Regions from separate parts of the Homo sapiens genome. Here regions 1 and 2 are each linked to region 3. The links are contacts of gene promoters, found by promoter capture Hi-C in blood cells and fetal thymus (Javierre and others, 2016). All regions are on one chromosome and are shown on one strand. The core of a region is centred on a gene start or on the middle of the fragment in contact, and the rest is flanking DNA. Distances in the headings are between cores, read along the strand shown. Region 1 has its middle 87 kb from the start of MIR4290. Region 2 holds the start of LOC101927847 (a long non-coding RNA gene). Region 3 holds the start of GADD45G (growth arrest and DNA damage inducible gamma).

What was found. The method cuts DNA at HindIII sites, captures the fragments that hold promoters and counts their contacts. A CHiCAGO score of 5 or more calls a contact.
Region 1: a contact is called between a fragment that was not itself captured here and the fragment with the promoter of GADD45G in region 3, in 14 of 17 cell types (M1 macrophages, megakaryocytes, M0 macrophages and 11 more). The highest score is 18.2, in M1 macrophages.
Region 2: a contact is called between a fragment that was not itself captured here and the fragment with the promoter of GADD45G in region 3, in 10 of 17 cell types (M1 macrophages, M0 macrophages, M2 macrophages and 7 more). The highest score is 21.0, in M1 macrophages.

The regions. Positions count from the first base shown.
Region 1 is chr9:89,934,476-89,939,475 of GRCh38, forward strand. No RefSeq gene overlaps it. Among named protein-coding and RNA genes, the nearest start is that of MIR4290, 87 kb to the right of the region's middle. The HindIII fragment of the contact is 3,919 bases long and covers 659-4,577 here.
Region 2 is chr9:89,969,100-89,973,932 of GRCh38, forward strand. LOC101927847 (a long non-coding RNA gene) reads left to right here and starts at 317. Exons shown (of 3, transcript NR_109791.1): 1 at 317-384. RefSeq lists an enhancer at 357-406. The HindIII fragment of the contact is 1,282 bases long and covers 1,717-2,998 here.
Region 3 is chr9:89,602,586-89,607,350 of GRCh38, forward strand. It overlaps GADD45G (growth arrest and DNA damage inducible gamma), which reads left to right and starts at 2,427. Exons shown (of 4, transcript NM_006705.4): 1 at 2,427-2,589; 2 at 2,847-2,948; 3 at 3,082-3,295; 4 at 3,384-3,970. The coding sequence starts at 2,537. The coding sequence ends at 3,494. It overlaps LOC105376139 (a long non-coding RNA gene), which reads right to left and starts at 2,431. Exons shown (of 2, transcript XR_930105.3): 1 at 155-2,431. RefSeq lists an enhancer at 1,238-2,136 and a silencer at 1,747-1,796. The HindIII fragment of the contact is 4,421 bases long and covers 1-3,935 here.

The DNA.
Region 1 (5,000 bases), core at 1,368-3,867, 330 kb after region 3:
TCTTGCTTTTTTGCTCCAACCCCTTATTGTAAGAAAGCCTTGATTCCTTGAGCATAAGAGGAATAAGACACATTTGAAGGGAGGGAAGGAGAGGGAGAGGGTGGGGAAAAGTGACGGCAATATGAGGTTGGCTGCTGATGCATGTTTCCGTGAGGTATGTTGGAAATATCTTTCTCCAAACTCCAGATTCAAGGTCATATCACCATGTCATCCGTGGTCAGGAGTTTAGAACCCACAACCTGAACCCTGACTTTGCCAGCTTGCATGTCATGGGGCCGTCCTCTGCTCAGCCCTCCCAGGGGCTCAGCCCACTCTGGGAATACCCCGGCCCCAGCTGCCCTTTTGGCCATGATGACCCTGGACAGCGAGCCCTTCTTTCTTGCATAGGGTGCCAGGCACACTTGTTGGAATCCAGGCGGAGGGTGACTGTTCCCTTCTCCATCTCTCGACATAAATATGGACTGTACCTGATCACACCTGGCAGGAAGGCGTGTGCTTTGAGGTTGGCAGCTGCCCAGTATGGCACAATATTTGTTGTAGGAGACAAGAGACCTGTTGGGTCCAGGTAAAATGTGCACTAACAGGGAGCCTGGTCAGACAATGGCCCCACTTTCAAAGTCTATTTCTAACTCAAAGGGAGAGTTACAGTCAATAGAAAAGCTTTCACAATGGCCCCTTGCTTTAATGTCGCTTCCTCTACAGTCCTTTGTGAAGTTGGTCAAGGATGCTGGAGGCTGGAGCTGCCTGCATTCTGGCTGTGCTTTGCTTTGTCAGCCCAAGCACTCGGAGAGGTTCTCCGACGAGCACCACTTGTTTGTATAAACTCTGTAGCTGGGAAATGGGGGACAGTTCAGAACTGGAGTGTCAAAGCCAAGAGGAATGGAGAGCCCACTTCAGACACTAGTCGTGGTAGACATTGTGAAGCCAGGAAAGCGAAGTGTTGAGAACACTGCAGGCCATGCAGACTGCATCTTGCCTGCCTAAGATCACATGGACTGGGCAGAACTTGGACTTGAGCCCAGCTCTTCTGAAACCCAGTTGTTGAATTTCCACCTTAGCTCCTATTTCTCTGGTGCTTCGTCGCTTCCCAAGTACATCCACCCAATCATCCCACCTAATCATCAAAGTCACAAAAACCAGCCCAGGATATGCACCCACATTCCTACCTTGGTTGGCAGTGTGTTCTACTCCAAGTCTGTTTCTTCCTATTCCTTGTCTTCAGAGTGACTGAGGGTGTTATAAAATGTCTCCATCTCATACTGGGAATGACAAAGAACATGGGACAGGTCCCTACAATGTTTGGATGATTGATGTGTTCTGTTTCCTTAATTCTTGCTTCCTGGTGGCTCAATGCTATGGCACCACTAACCCTGTTGGATGCCGTAATGCCCGAAGCAATGTGTGTACTGGGAATACGAGTTTAAGAAACAGACATTCTCTCCATCCCTGGGCATCAGTATCTACACACAGTTTACTAGCCTCTGAATCAGCTTCTCATTTGAACTAGCAGAAAGGCATCCCCTGGATAAATCAACACTGTCAGTGAGCCAGGGAACAATTCTCAATTGACCTACTTTCACTCAGGGTGGAACCCTTATTCCTAAACCTTGGGTTGAGGCTTGTGGATAAAGAAGAATGCACACATGAAACTAACTTTTTATCAGCCTAAAACTGAAACGAACTTGGGTTTTATATTTGGAGGAAGTCAAATGCTCTGATGAAAAGAAGAAATGGAAATTGAGCATAATTTATCACAAAATAGGCAAAGACATAGAAGGATGCTTTCAGGCTTTTATGAAAGCAGCTGGGCTGGATTCAGAGGACAGAGGAGTATAACAGACAAGGGGATCAAGAACCTGCTCACTCCTGAGAAAGCACCCAGCAGCTCTTCTGTGTTCTTTGTTCATCTGTTGAAGAGGCTGCCCCCTCAGCCTAGTGCAAACAACTCAGGCCATGAGAGAAAGAAGGGGGTGGGCAACTCTGTCCATTCTGAGCTGACTTGCCTGCTGGGAGGAAGGCACACCATAAGAACTCACTGGGGCCCTTGAATGATCCAAATTTTGGATATTGATTGAGAATGCTTCAGAAGATTGCAGATCTTCCAGATCTTCCAGAACTGTGGGAGCTTTGCTGGAAACTGCAGGTTGAGGGAAAAGGTCTCTCTTTTGTTGATGAAAGGTTATTATTCTTAAGAATTAGTGAGGTTAGGGCCGGGTGCGGTGGCTCACACCTGTAATCCCAGCACTTTGGGAGGCCGAGGAGGGCGGATCATGAGGTCAAGAGATCGAGACCAACCTGGCCAACACAGTGAAACCCCATCTCTACTAAAAATAACAAAAATTAGCTGGGCGTGGTGGCATATGCCTGTAGTCCCAGCTACTCAGGAGGCTGAGGCAAGAGAATCACTCGAATCTGGGAGGCAGAGGTTGCAGTGAGCCAAGATTGAACCACTACGCTCCAGCCTGGCGATAGAGCAAGACTCTGTCTCAAAAAAGGAAAAAAAAAAAAAAAGAACTAGTAAGGTTAGTTGGTTAGTTAGGTCAATGTCACTGCCTTATATTTTCTCACTGGTTCTTCCTAAGGTCAAAGTGCCAAGGATCCCAAGTCTCTGAGATGGATCTTTATGTGAAGCAACTACAATCACAGAGCTTCTGGATTCCTCTCACTATTTGTTCTTACTACAGAGGGGCTGTCATGGAGTAGTTTTCTTCTTTTCAAGCACCTGAGTGAGCTTAAGAAGTGGGTGAAGGGTGTTTGGCAGCCAGGCTTTGCTCTTTCACAGCCCTCCATGGTAGACAGGTCAAGCGGACCTTGCTCCCACGATTTTTAAAATTGTGATCCTATGTCCCTCTTGAACCAGTTCTTAGCTAAATGGTTAGCATATTCCTGGTGCAAGGTGCATGTTCACTGAATGCTTGTTTTGCTGGTTAAAACAGACTTAACATCAAATCATTTTAGGACATTTAAAAGTACTGAATTATTTATCTGAAAGAAGAAGGAGCTTAATATTTGCATAAGAGAAGGACAAAAAATGGTCCAGAAGTATGTCAAAGAGCCGTGGCAGAATCATCACTCTTTTTTAAGGCACTATCTGGTTTATGAATCTTCTGTGTCTGTTGGGGTGGAGGAGTTGGGCAGACACACAGGGCTTTTAGCTAAGAGTGACCTCTGCCTGGTCTCCTGATCAGGCCATTCACTCTCCCAGGCTCTTGTATTTTGCTTTACCCTCCCTATTTGCACCTTCTACACACATGATTTTGGATTTTAAGATCTGATTTTCCACATACTTTGAATTTGTGTGGTTCAAAAGTTTATGACTTTTTGACCAAATTTGGAAATTGAATAGATAATCTTGCCTATCCTACCACTTTGTAAACTTATTAATTACCTTGATCTTCCATGTTAGGCATATTTAATGTATTTTTAATCACTTAGTAGAATTGTCTAATACAGAAAAATAAAAAGAAGAAAACAACAAGAGTGAGCTACTGCCCAGACAAGGCTTATTAATTACAAAAGAAAAATTGTGTTACACTGACTGTAAAAAAAATTGTGCTAACTTTCTTATTTTTGCTATGCTTTCTGAAATAGTTTAAATGCACCAAAATATTCTGTTACTTCAAACATTAAAAAAATTCACCTGTGACACTGGGTAATCTTGGTGATTTTGGGAAGGGGTAAATAATTCTTTAACACCATAAAAAGTACCTTTTCCTGGTGTTTTTCAGTGTCATTTTGAGGGGTTATTTTACCAGGTCCTTGGGCACCTCTGTGCAACTTTGTCTCTCTAATGTCATGAGGTCAGCAAGAATATAACTCAGATTCTAAACTCTTGCTTCCAGACTTTGAAATTTCCCCAGGACAAAAATTAGCTTCAAGTGCTTGACTCAATTTGCTAGATTCCAGAACTTTCCTGGATTTCAGTTGGCTAATTTCTCACCATCTACTTAGCTGTTTACTGCCTTTAAGCCTTTATAGAGAGATAGATATTGATAGAAATAAATATTTATGGATATAGATGTAGACATATGTATTTACATATAGATATGGATGGATGAGACATAGATTGGCATTTTCGGGTTGTTTCCAACAGAAGCGTTGGTCTAAATTACCTGGTCTGCCATTACCCAAAAATGAGAGAGTAAATAAGAAGGTTAACAAGTTTTTTTTACAGTTAATATAACGTGATTTTCTTTTTTTACTTGTGTATATTATCTACTGTTGCTCTTAATTAATTTATTAACTCTGTAAATGGTGGCTTAAGCCTCAATTTGGTGCCTTATTTCCAAATTCTCACTTCTTTTAAAAAGAAATCCCTTATGTGAAACTTCTATTAATAACTAAATTCACATTCCCTTATTTTTTTTCACCCTGCAGTTCAGAACGCTCGAGGAAACTTCTTGTTTTCAGTTTGTGTTTTTTTTCATTCCTTTCTTTTTTTCACCCTGCAGTTCAGAACACTCGAGGAAACTTCTGTTTTCAGTTTGTGTTTTTTTCCAGATTAGATTGTTTTGTTCTTCACAGTTTTTTTGTCTTTCTTTGCCCTTTCTTACTTTCCTGTTTCCTTTCCTGCAGAAAGCTTAAATAAATGGTGTGTTGGAGCTGCTTCTCTCCACACTGGGGATGAAAATATTATTTTTCATGATGTTGTTGATTCACAAAGTAGAAAGTTGCCTTGGACTTCACAAACCAAACCTGGGCAGGTCTTTGGAAACCTCCGTTCTTTTTGCTCCGTTGTCCCCTTTCTCTCAGTCTCTGCCTCTTTCTTCCCTTTCTGAAGTCATTTGTTGTTCATAGCATTAGGTTAGGAGGTCGGGTTTCTTATATTCTTATCTCACAAGAGCAAATTACTAATGGGATGTATTTTAGAACGTGGGGGAAGGGGTACTTGGACCACAAACTTTATTATGATACACTGGGCTTCTTCTGACACAGAAACTGCTGGGTCATGCTTCTAACATGCCAAAACAGAGTTTCTAACATTCGCCCCCAGGATCTGG
Region 2 (4,833 bases), core at 1,108-3,607, 370 kb after region 3:
CCTGCACATGTATCCCAGAACTTAAAATAAAAATAAAATAAAATTATTTTTTTTTTTAAAAAGCCACTTTGTTTAGAAAACAGTTGGTTAGATCCTCACAATGTTAAACACAGTAACCATATGACTCAGCAATTCCACTGCTAGGTATACATGAAGAGAAATTAAACACACAACCATGCAAAAACCTGTAAATGGGTATTAATAGAAACATTATTAATCATAGCCAAAAAGTGAGAGAAGCTAGTCACAAAAGCCACTTCTATGAGGTAATAGGGGAGTCAAATTCACAGACAGTGGAGTAGGCGTTGCTGGGGCTGGAGAAGGCAAAGTGCAGAGGAAGGAGGAGCCACTGCTAGTGGGTACGAGGTTTCTTCTTGGTACAAGGTAATGAAATTGTTCTAAAATTAGAAAGCAGTGATAATTGCATAGCTTTGTAAATATACTCAAAACGGTTGAACCATACACTTTACAAAGGTGAACTTTATGGTATGTCAACTGTAAATCAATAAAGCTGCTGAGAAAGAGGGGGAGCTCAGCTTCATTACTCTGTTTTTCCAGCATTAGGCTTTTCCCTGGACACTAAGGATTTAGTTAGTCTCTCTCTCTCTCACACACACACACATATGTACACATCCTCACCCATGTATTACAATCTTCTCCTTTTCTCTTCATCCTTCAAAAATATCAATCAAATGGAAAGTGAGGTTCCCAGTGTAGAGACACTGCCAATCCTACTGAGATCTCAAATAGGTGGAGGCAGAGGAAGGTGGCTGTTAGGGCTTCACTTTCCAGTAACCACAGGGCAGTAGGAGCTCACATGAGCCCACCTCCTCCTATGAGAAATTCATGAAGATGTGGATAAAATGTGATGCCTCAAAAATACGCACAAGAGCCCAGCAGCAAAAGCATAAAGAGCACTGAGCCCTGGAGTGGCAAACTCCAGCTGCTGCCCGCAATCTCTAGGCGCTGGTCAGGCGTGGAGTCCATTCGGGGGTGGAGTCCATCCGGGCAGGCTTCAGAGAGGGACATGGCCGCCTTGTTCACTGTGAGACACAGTAGCACAGGTAAGAAGCCACATTTGCTCATTTCTGCTGGCCAGCATAATTCCACAAAGCCCCTGACACTGTGACAACGTGGAGCTCTCTGGTGGGTTGCTTTGAAGACAAAACAGAATAGAGCACAGAGCACCTCCATGTCTCTCACCTGAGTCCCTACATTCCTATAGTCAAAACACACATGATCCTAGTCCTTGCCTTTTCCTACACATAAAATAATGTCCAGTTGGGCGTGGTGGCATATGCCTATAGTCTCAGCTACTCAGAAGGCTGAAGTGGGAGGATCACTTGAGCCCAGGAGGCTGAGGCTGCAGTGAGTCGTGATTGCGCCACTGCACTCCAGCCTGGGTGACAGAGGGAGACTCTGTCTCAGAAAAGAAAATAATGTCTGACCAGTGAGTGATTATGCCTCTGTAAAGTATAACCTGTAAGTGTACTCTTACACTTAAGCCTTGATTTGGCTCTGCTTTAATATAACTTCTGAGCAAGTTTGATGGGATTTTGCTCGTACTGAATCCTTACCACCTGTATCTGAGCTATGGGCTGAAACCCTGGCCAGAGCCATTGATAGATCCTCTCTAAAGAGCTGCTCCCAGGCTATTGGCTTCTGTGTGTAGCCCTCGACGAGACTTCTGAATAAAACTCACTTTAATTCTTTAAAAGCTTGATTATTTTACCTTTAGTCGACACTAGCAAGGAGCAGGCGGGAGCTGTGTCCCATGAAGGCAGGGCTGCAGGCGCTGCCGCTTCGGTGATGGGACTGAGCACTCTGCCCAGTGGGCCAGCAATACGGCCAGGACACATGGCTCCGTCCAGGCATCTGTGTGGAAAACAAGACCAGGCCCAAAGAGAAGACCAGGGCTTGGCGAGGGTGAAGGGCTGAGCGAAGTGGGAACAGCCGTACACGTGCGTGTCTCACAGACACGAAGCCCTCATGTCATAAAATCCTGGTTTGTTGCGATGAAACTGAAAATGCTACATGGCAATTGCAGAGGACAAAATACTTAGCATTGAATGACACTGAAAATACCCCTGCGTCAGGGCATGTGGGATGCAGCTAGAGGTGTGTGGAGAGGAACATGAAGCCAAAAAAGAAATACGGACATTCACAGGCCAAGATCCAACTCAGAAGACTAGAAAATGAACAACCCAGCAAACTTAGGAGATGGGGAAGGAAGGGAATTCAGAAGGTGATAGCTGCAAGCATCGGCAGACCAGTCCTAGCAAAATGGAGTTTAAAAGGGGGTAAGTCACAAATAAACAACACTAGAAACGAAAGTCAAACATAACTACAGATAAAGATTTTTAAAATACAATCAATCTTGAAAATAGACAAAACGTAAGTTTTGAGTGGTTGGGAAAATCTAGGAGTACAAAAGTTACCCCTGATAATTCCTAATTTTAACCTAATTAGAAATTAAACAATTGCTAACACAAAATTTTAAGACTCCAAAGGGAGTTTTCTTCCTAAATTTTACATTTTTTTATTTTTTAGAATTAAAAATATATATATATATATTTATTATACTTTAAGTTCTAGGGTACATGTGCACAACGTGCAGGTTTGTTACATATGTATATATGTGCCATGTTGGTGTGCTGCACCATTTTTTTTTTTTTTTTTTTTGAGATGGAGTCTTGCTCTGTCGCCCAGGCTGGAGTGCAGTGGCGTGATTTTGGCTCACTGCAAGCTCTGCCTCCCAGGTTCACGCCATTCTCCTGCCTCAGCCTCCCGAGTAGCTGGGACCACAGACGCCCACCACCATGCCAGGCTAATTTTTTGTATTTTTAGTAGAGACGGGGTTTCACCGTGTTAGCCAGGATGGTCTTGATCTCTTGACCTCGTGATCCACCTGCCTTGGCCTCCCAAAGTGCAGGGATTACAGGCGTGAGCCACCACACCTGGCCACAAATTATTTTCTTTTAATTTTCAAAACAAATGAAGCTTCTGCCAAATTTGTAGATGCCTGGGTCTAGATGCCTCATTTAACTTTCTTCCCTTTCCTACACATCTTGTGCTAAGCAGCACTTATTTTATAAGATTTCTTAAAGGACCATGATTATTATACGATTATCTGTCCAGAATTACCCCCCTTTCCAACCTGTTTACCTGGTGCATGCTATTATTCCTTTCTCCCTCCCTCCCTTCTTTCCTAATCCAGGGGTTATCCCTGCTGCAAGAATCGTTGCCATCTCTACACAGGAGTTCTGCACAGGGAGATGGCCCGTATATTAATAACTTTAAGGGGCTGGGCACGGTGGCTCACACTTGTAATCCCAGCACTTTGGGAGGCCGAGGCAGATGGATTGCCTGAGGACAGGAGTTCGCGACCAGACTGACCAACATGGTGAAACCTTGTCTCTACTAAAAATTCAAAATTAAACAGGTGTGGTGGCACATGCCTGTAATCCCAGCTACCCGGGAGGCTGAGACAGGAGAATCTCTTGAACGCAGGAGGCAGAAGTTGCAGTGAGTTGAGATTGTGCCATTGCACTCCAGCCTGGGCAACGAGAGAGAAAACCTGTCTCAAAAAACAAAAGCAAAAACAAATAAATCATGTTCAGCAGTTTAGCAGGAAAATCTACTCATCCTGAAACTGCGTTTGAAACAGTAGGGTAGAATAGAATTTTCCTACTCCTGAGAAAAAAAAATAAACTTACAAACTCCCCTTGGCAGACTTCAAATACCTACTGCCCACTTGTTCTGGAGGCTCTGCATTGCTGGTAATATTACTTTGGAGAAATGAGATTCGTTCTTTCAGTGGGGTAGCAGGTTAGACCTCTATACATCTTACATGGGCATTGGGCTTTAATCAGTACATGGGGCAAAAAATGACCTGCAGTTTCCTGAAGTTTCTCTTCAGGAATATTCTCCAACTTGGGGATTGCTACTCAATGAGTCTAGTACACTTATTTCTCTCGACAGGGGTGAGAAGTCCCTTTCTTCACTGGAAGGCCCATACAATATGTGACCAAAATAGGCATTTTTAGGCCAAGAGAACCTATCCAGTGTTGTGACATGGCCTGTTATGAAAAATTAGTTGTGAGTGTGTCTACTGGTAAGAGAGTAAAAGGAATGCATTTAAAACCTGATTTCACTTGTGCCTCTGCCACTTTCTCATGGGATCTGTGGCTTTATTGAGGACTTTTTTCTAAGAATGTGAACAAACAAATTGTAATCATCAAACAATATAGGCAGTATAAATAAAATGCTTAAGATTCCTCTCATCCTTCCTCAATCTTCCTTCTCCAGGTCAGGAGACCTATGTCTTTCTCTATATTCTTACAAACATGTAATATGTAGAATGTCTGTTTTTATGTCATTCATCACTTTTTTTACATTTTTGTTTATAATTGTGGTAAAATACATATGATGTAGAATTTGCCATCTTAAGCATTTTTTAAATGTATAGTTGAGCAGTGTTAAGTATATACACACTGCTGTGCAACCAATCCCCAGGATGCTTTCACCTTGCAAGACTGAAATTCTATGTCTGCTAGATACTAACCACCTGTTTCCCCACTGCCCCAGCCCCTGGGATCTACCCTTCGACATTCTGTCTCTGTGAATTTGACTTTTCTCTTATGAGTGGAATCATACAGTCTTTGTCATTTGGTGGCTGGCTTATTTCACTGAGCATAATGTCCTCAAGGTTCATCCATGTTACATAGCATATGTCAGAATTTCCATGTTTTTAAAGGCTGAATAATATTCCATTGTATGAATGGACCACATTTTGTTTCTCCACCCATCTGTCGATGGACACTTGGGTTGCTT
Region 3 (4,765 bases), core at 1,177-3,676:
AGGCCGGGTGCGGTTGCTCATGCCTGTAATCCCAGCACTTTGGGAGGCCGAGGTGGGTGGATCACGAGGTCAGGAGTTTGAGACCAGCCTGGCCAACATGGTGAAACTCTGTTTCTACTAAAAATACAAAAATTAGCCCGGCGTGGTGGCGCACCTGTAGTCCCAGCTACTCGGGAGGCTGAAGCAGAAGGATCGCTTGAACCCGGGAGGCGGAGGTTGCAGTGAGCCGAGATTGTGCCACCGCACTCCAGCCTGGGCAACCGAGCGAGACTCCGTCTCAAAAAAGAAAAGAAAAGAAAAGAAAAGTTTAATAGTTTTAAAAGAGTAATACCTATATTCCAATCACTTAAAATTAACATATTTTATCCAATCAAGGCATATCATCATTTTATACATCAAGAAAGAAAAGAAACTAGCGAACAAACGGGGCATAATGCCGCCTGGCTCCGCTTCCCCCTCCCCTCTCCCCCCGTCCTTAGGAGACACCTCTGGAGTTCAGAAATGCTAGGAGAGCAAGCTCTTCATTCTTAGAATCCAGGAAGGGCCGGGCTTTTGCAGCTCTCCTCTGCCAGGAAGCCGCTGGGGGGCGCAAGACGCCAGCTTCTCACCTTGGCAGAAGTGCCTGCCTGCAAGCGCAGAATGGAAACTTCCCCATAACAAATTCAGAAGTACCTTGTACATTCACCACCCACCTGAAGAAAGCCTGAATGAAAGGAACAAAGCCACGGCGTTGTTTACTTTCCCATTATCGCCCCAGTCTTGCGGCAGGGCCCGGGTTTCCATCCAATCCACCCGGCCCGCCACTGTCCTGGCCAGTCTCCAAGGCTTCACCCAAAAAAAGGAAGCAATGAGGTGTCCCCCAGCGCGCCTTTTCACGTAGCACAGAAGGTGCTCAGTGGGTGAATCCTCTGAAAGTGCCAGCGTGTATGGTCAAACGGCAGCAACCTCTAGCCTATTAAACTCTCCCAAGATCTCTTCCAGACTTATTCCATTGCCGGAAAAAAGGCTTTTTACATATGCGCATTTAAGTAATTAAGATATTTCAACATGGTATAAGACGTAGGGGCTCTTACTCCATCAGTACTGGATGGGAATTTCCTTTTGCCCTCTACTCCCCAGGGTAACTGCAGTCCCACCTGAATGCGTTTTGCAGCCCTTACTCGGGTTCTATTTATGCGCAGCTTGGACAGGGCTCACTGGGCCCGGCCGGGCAGCTCCGTGGCCGTCCCTCTCCACCGCCCTTCCCCCGCGCCAGGCCAATGCAAGGGTGTGTGTGTTGGGGGGAGGGGAGGACAAAAGGGGTTCAGGATCTTTTTAACCTGCCTGCAGATGGCGCCCCGGGAAAGATTCCGAGCTGCATTACCTAAGCTCCAGGGGCTGCAGCCGCGGGGTCCCGGCCACAGGGCGTCCAGCCGCGAAGACTGCACAGCAGCTCTCCGTCCTTCCCAACTCGCGCGGCTGTTCGGCACCCGTGCGAGGAACGGATGGAAGGGAATTACTTGTAGCAGGGCCAGTACTGGGGGCGTGCACTCAGGGACCACGGAGTGGCACTCAGCCTCGACCCCACGCGCCAGGCAGCCCGGCGACCCCCACGCGCGGCGGGGTCCTGCCCACCCCACCCGGCGGCAGGTGGACAGTGTTGCTATGAAGAGAAAGCCTCGATTGTCCCTACAGCAAACCGCCACACGCCAGACCTCTGCTATTGTGCGCCCTCCATAGAAATGCAAACGAGCGGCGTGCGCCGGCCGCAATCTGCTCGTCCCCGCCCGCCCCCGTCTCCCGCGCCCCGCCGCGCTCGGCCAAGGGCGGGGAGGTGGGGTGGGATCTTCCAGAGACGGCTCAATGTACACATTGAGTATGCCTGGCAGGCATCACCAGCGCGCTCGGGACGCTAGTGGTCAGCTGCAGGGGGCTGTGCCCACTGCCTTTTGCAAGCCTCTAACTGGCGCTACCTGTTTTTACCTTAATTTCTGGCTCCAATGCAACAGTCTCATAGACTTCAAATTAAAGAAAAGAAACAAATAGAAAGGTAGCAATACAAAATGCAAAAAAAAATCCCTTTGCTTCTATAAAGGTGCTTTTCGCAAATTGCAGCATCATATAAGCAAACAAGGTTTTTGTGGGTTGGGTTTTTTCTTTTTTTTTTTTTTTTACTTTTTCCTTTTAAGGACTTCAAAAAAAAAAAAAAGCCAGGCGAGATGAAATCTGCAGGCTCCAGTCTGCCTGGTAACACCCCAACAAAAGCGGCAGATTTGAGGCATTGTCATCCCCCGCACCCCTCCCCACGTGGCCTTCTGGCACGAGCCGCTGGCTCGCCGCCTCATTTACATCAGAAAGCGGGTGCCGGCCAATAGGCGCGCAGCCTCGCGCCAGCTGGCGGCGCCGCACCCACCAGCCTATATAAGGGCGCGCAGCGTAGTAGGGGCGCACTCGCTGGTGGTGGGCGCGCCGTGCTGAGCTCTGGCTGTCAGTGTGTTCGCCCGCGTCCCCTCCGCGCTCTCCGCTTGTGGATAACTAGCTGCTGGTTGATCGCACTATGACTCTGGAAGAAGTCCGCGGCCAGGACACAGTTCCGGAAAGCACAGCCAGGTGGGTTTCAGGGCGCTGAGAAAGCCGCTGGTCGGTCGGCGACCGTCAGGGTTTTCCAGGGTGGGAATCCGCGGGGTAGGAGGGGAGCGCGGGGGTCCGGGCGCCAGATCCCGGTTGGAGAGCCGGGGTGCAGGCGCTGAGCCGGGATTGGAGTGTGGTTGGAGTTGGGGAGCCAAGGGTGTGTGCCGGTGGCCGGGGCTGGGGTCTCCGCCGCGCCCTCCGGCCGGCTCCCGCTCACTGCGCTGGCTCCTCCGCAGGATGCAGGGTGCCGGGAAAGCGCTGCATGAGTTGCTGCTGTCGGCGCAGCGTCAGGGCTGCCTCACTGCCGGCGTCTACGAGTCAGCCAAAGTCTTGAACGTGTAAGTGTAGACGCGGCCCAGGCTGGGAGACAGGGGCGGGGGTGAATGGCGAGGAGACTGGCGGATGGGAGGGGTGGCGGCGGGAGAACTCGGCTAGCCGGTTCTGACCTAGGTCCCCGCCTTGCCCTCGCAGGGACCCCGACAATGTGACCTTCTGTGTGCTGGCTGCGGGTGAGGAGGACGAGGGCGACATCGCGCTGCAGATCCATTTTACGCTGATCCAGGCTTTCTGCTGCGAGAACGACATCGACATAGTGCGCGTGGGCGATGTGCAGCGGCTGGCGGCTATCGTGGGCGCCGGCGAGGAGGCGGGTGCGCCGGGCGACCTGCACTGCATCCTCATTTCGGTGAGTACAGTCCCGTCCTGTCCCCGCCCCAGTGTCGTTCCCGCCTCGGCCCGCGGCCAGCCAGGCTGACCCTGCTCTCTCTCCGCAGAACCCCAACGAGGACGCCTGGAAGGATCCCGCCTTGGAGAAGCTCAGCCTGTTTTGCGAGGAGAGCCGCAGCGTTAACGACTGGGTGCCCAGCATCACCCTCCCCGAGTGACAGCCCGGCGGGGACCTTGGTCTGATCGACGTGGTGACGCCCCGGGGCGCCTAGAGCGCGGCTGGCTCTGTGGAGGGGCCCTCCGAGGGTGCCCGAGTGCGGCGTGGAGACTGGCAGGCGGGGGGGGCGCCTGGAGAGCGAGGAGGCGCGGCCTCCCGAGGAGGGGCCCGGTGGCGGCAGGGCCAGGCTGGTCCGAGCTGAGGACTCTGCAAGTGTCTGGAGCGGCTGCTCGCCCAGGAAGGCCTAGGCTAGGACGTTGGCCTCAGGGCCAGGAAGGACAGACTGGCCGGGCAGGCGTGACTCAGCAGCCTGCGCTCGGCAGGAAGGAGCGGCGCCCTGGACTTGGTACAGTTGCAGGAGCGTGAAGGACTTAGCCGACTGCGCTGCTTTTTCAAAACGGATCCGGGCAATGCTTCGTTTTCTAAAGGATGCTGCTGTTGAAGCTTTGAATTTTACAATAAACTTTTTGAAACAAACTTATGCTCTTTATTGAGGGTAGGGGATCTTTGTGTCGGGGGAGGTGGCGTGCAGGGTTTCAGAGGATTGCTGGAACTCCGTGGAACTGATGGCACCTGTTCCGTCTTCCTGTCGGGCAAGAATGACAGGCTCCTCCCCTCTGGCAGAGGGAGGGCATGCTGCCCAGTGCTAGGGTAGAACTTGAGCCTGGCTCCTACTTTTCTCCTTTTAGGAAGATTTTAAACTTGCAAAACAGGAGCATACTTGAGATAAGACAGTGCAGCAGCTGAAGTCTTGCCTTCCAAGGCGATAACAGTGACCTGTGCCTCCCCTCCCCCTCCTCGGCCCTCCTCCCCCTCCCTCCTACAGCTGCTTATCTGAACAGCTTGCAGGAGGCCTCAGGCTTTCCTGCACAATGAGCATTGCCTTCTGCAGGCCCTGCCCTTTGTGGTCCCTGAGGATGGTGGCAGACTGCTCCTGCTCTTGGGGACTTTTTCCTCTTAAATGCTCTGACACAAAGCAATGCTACAAAGGTACTAATACCAAATATGACATTGATGACTGCATTTAAGTATGAGTCATTACTTTGTCATGGCTGTGATAGAACTTGGAAGATCTGAGAAAAAATTGGAAGGCAGCATCTATATAAATAGGCATGAGCAATTCTGAGGGGGCCTGGCATCTGCTATCTACTATTTTCAGTGTTCTCTGCCCACATCAGAGTTACGAGGATTGCTGCTATTCACAATTCCGTTTAAAGACTCATAGGAAAAAAAAATTAAATATTTTAAGCCAAGACTTTCTTTAAAAAGGAA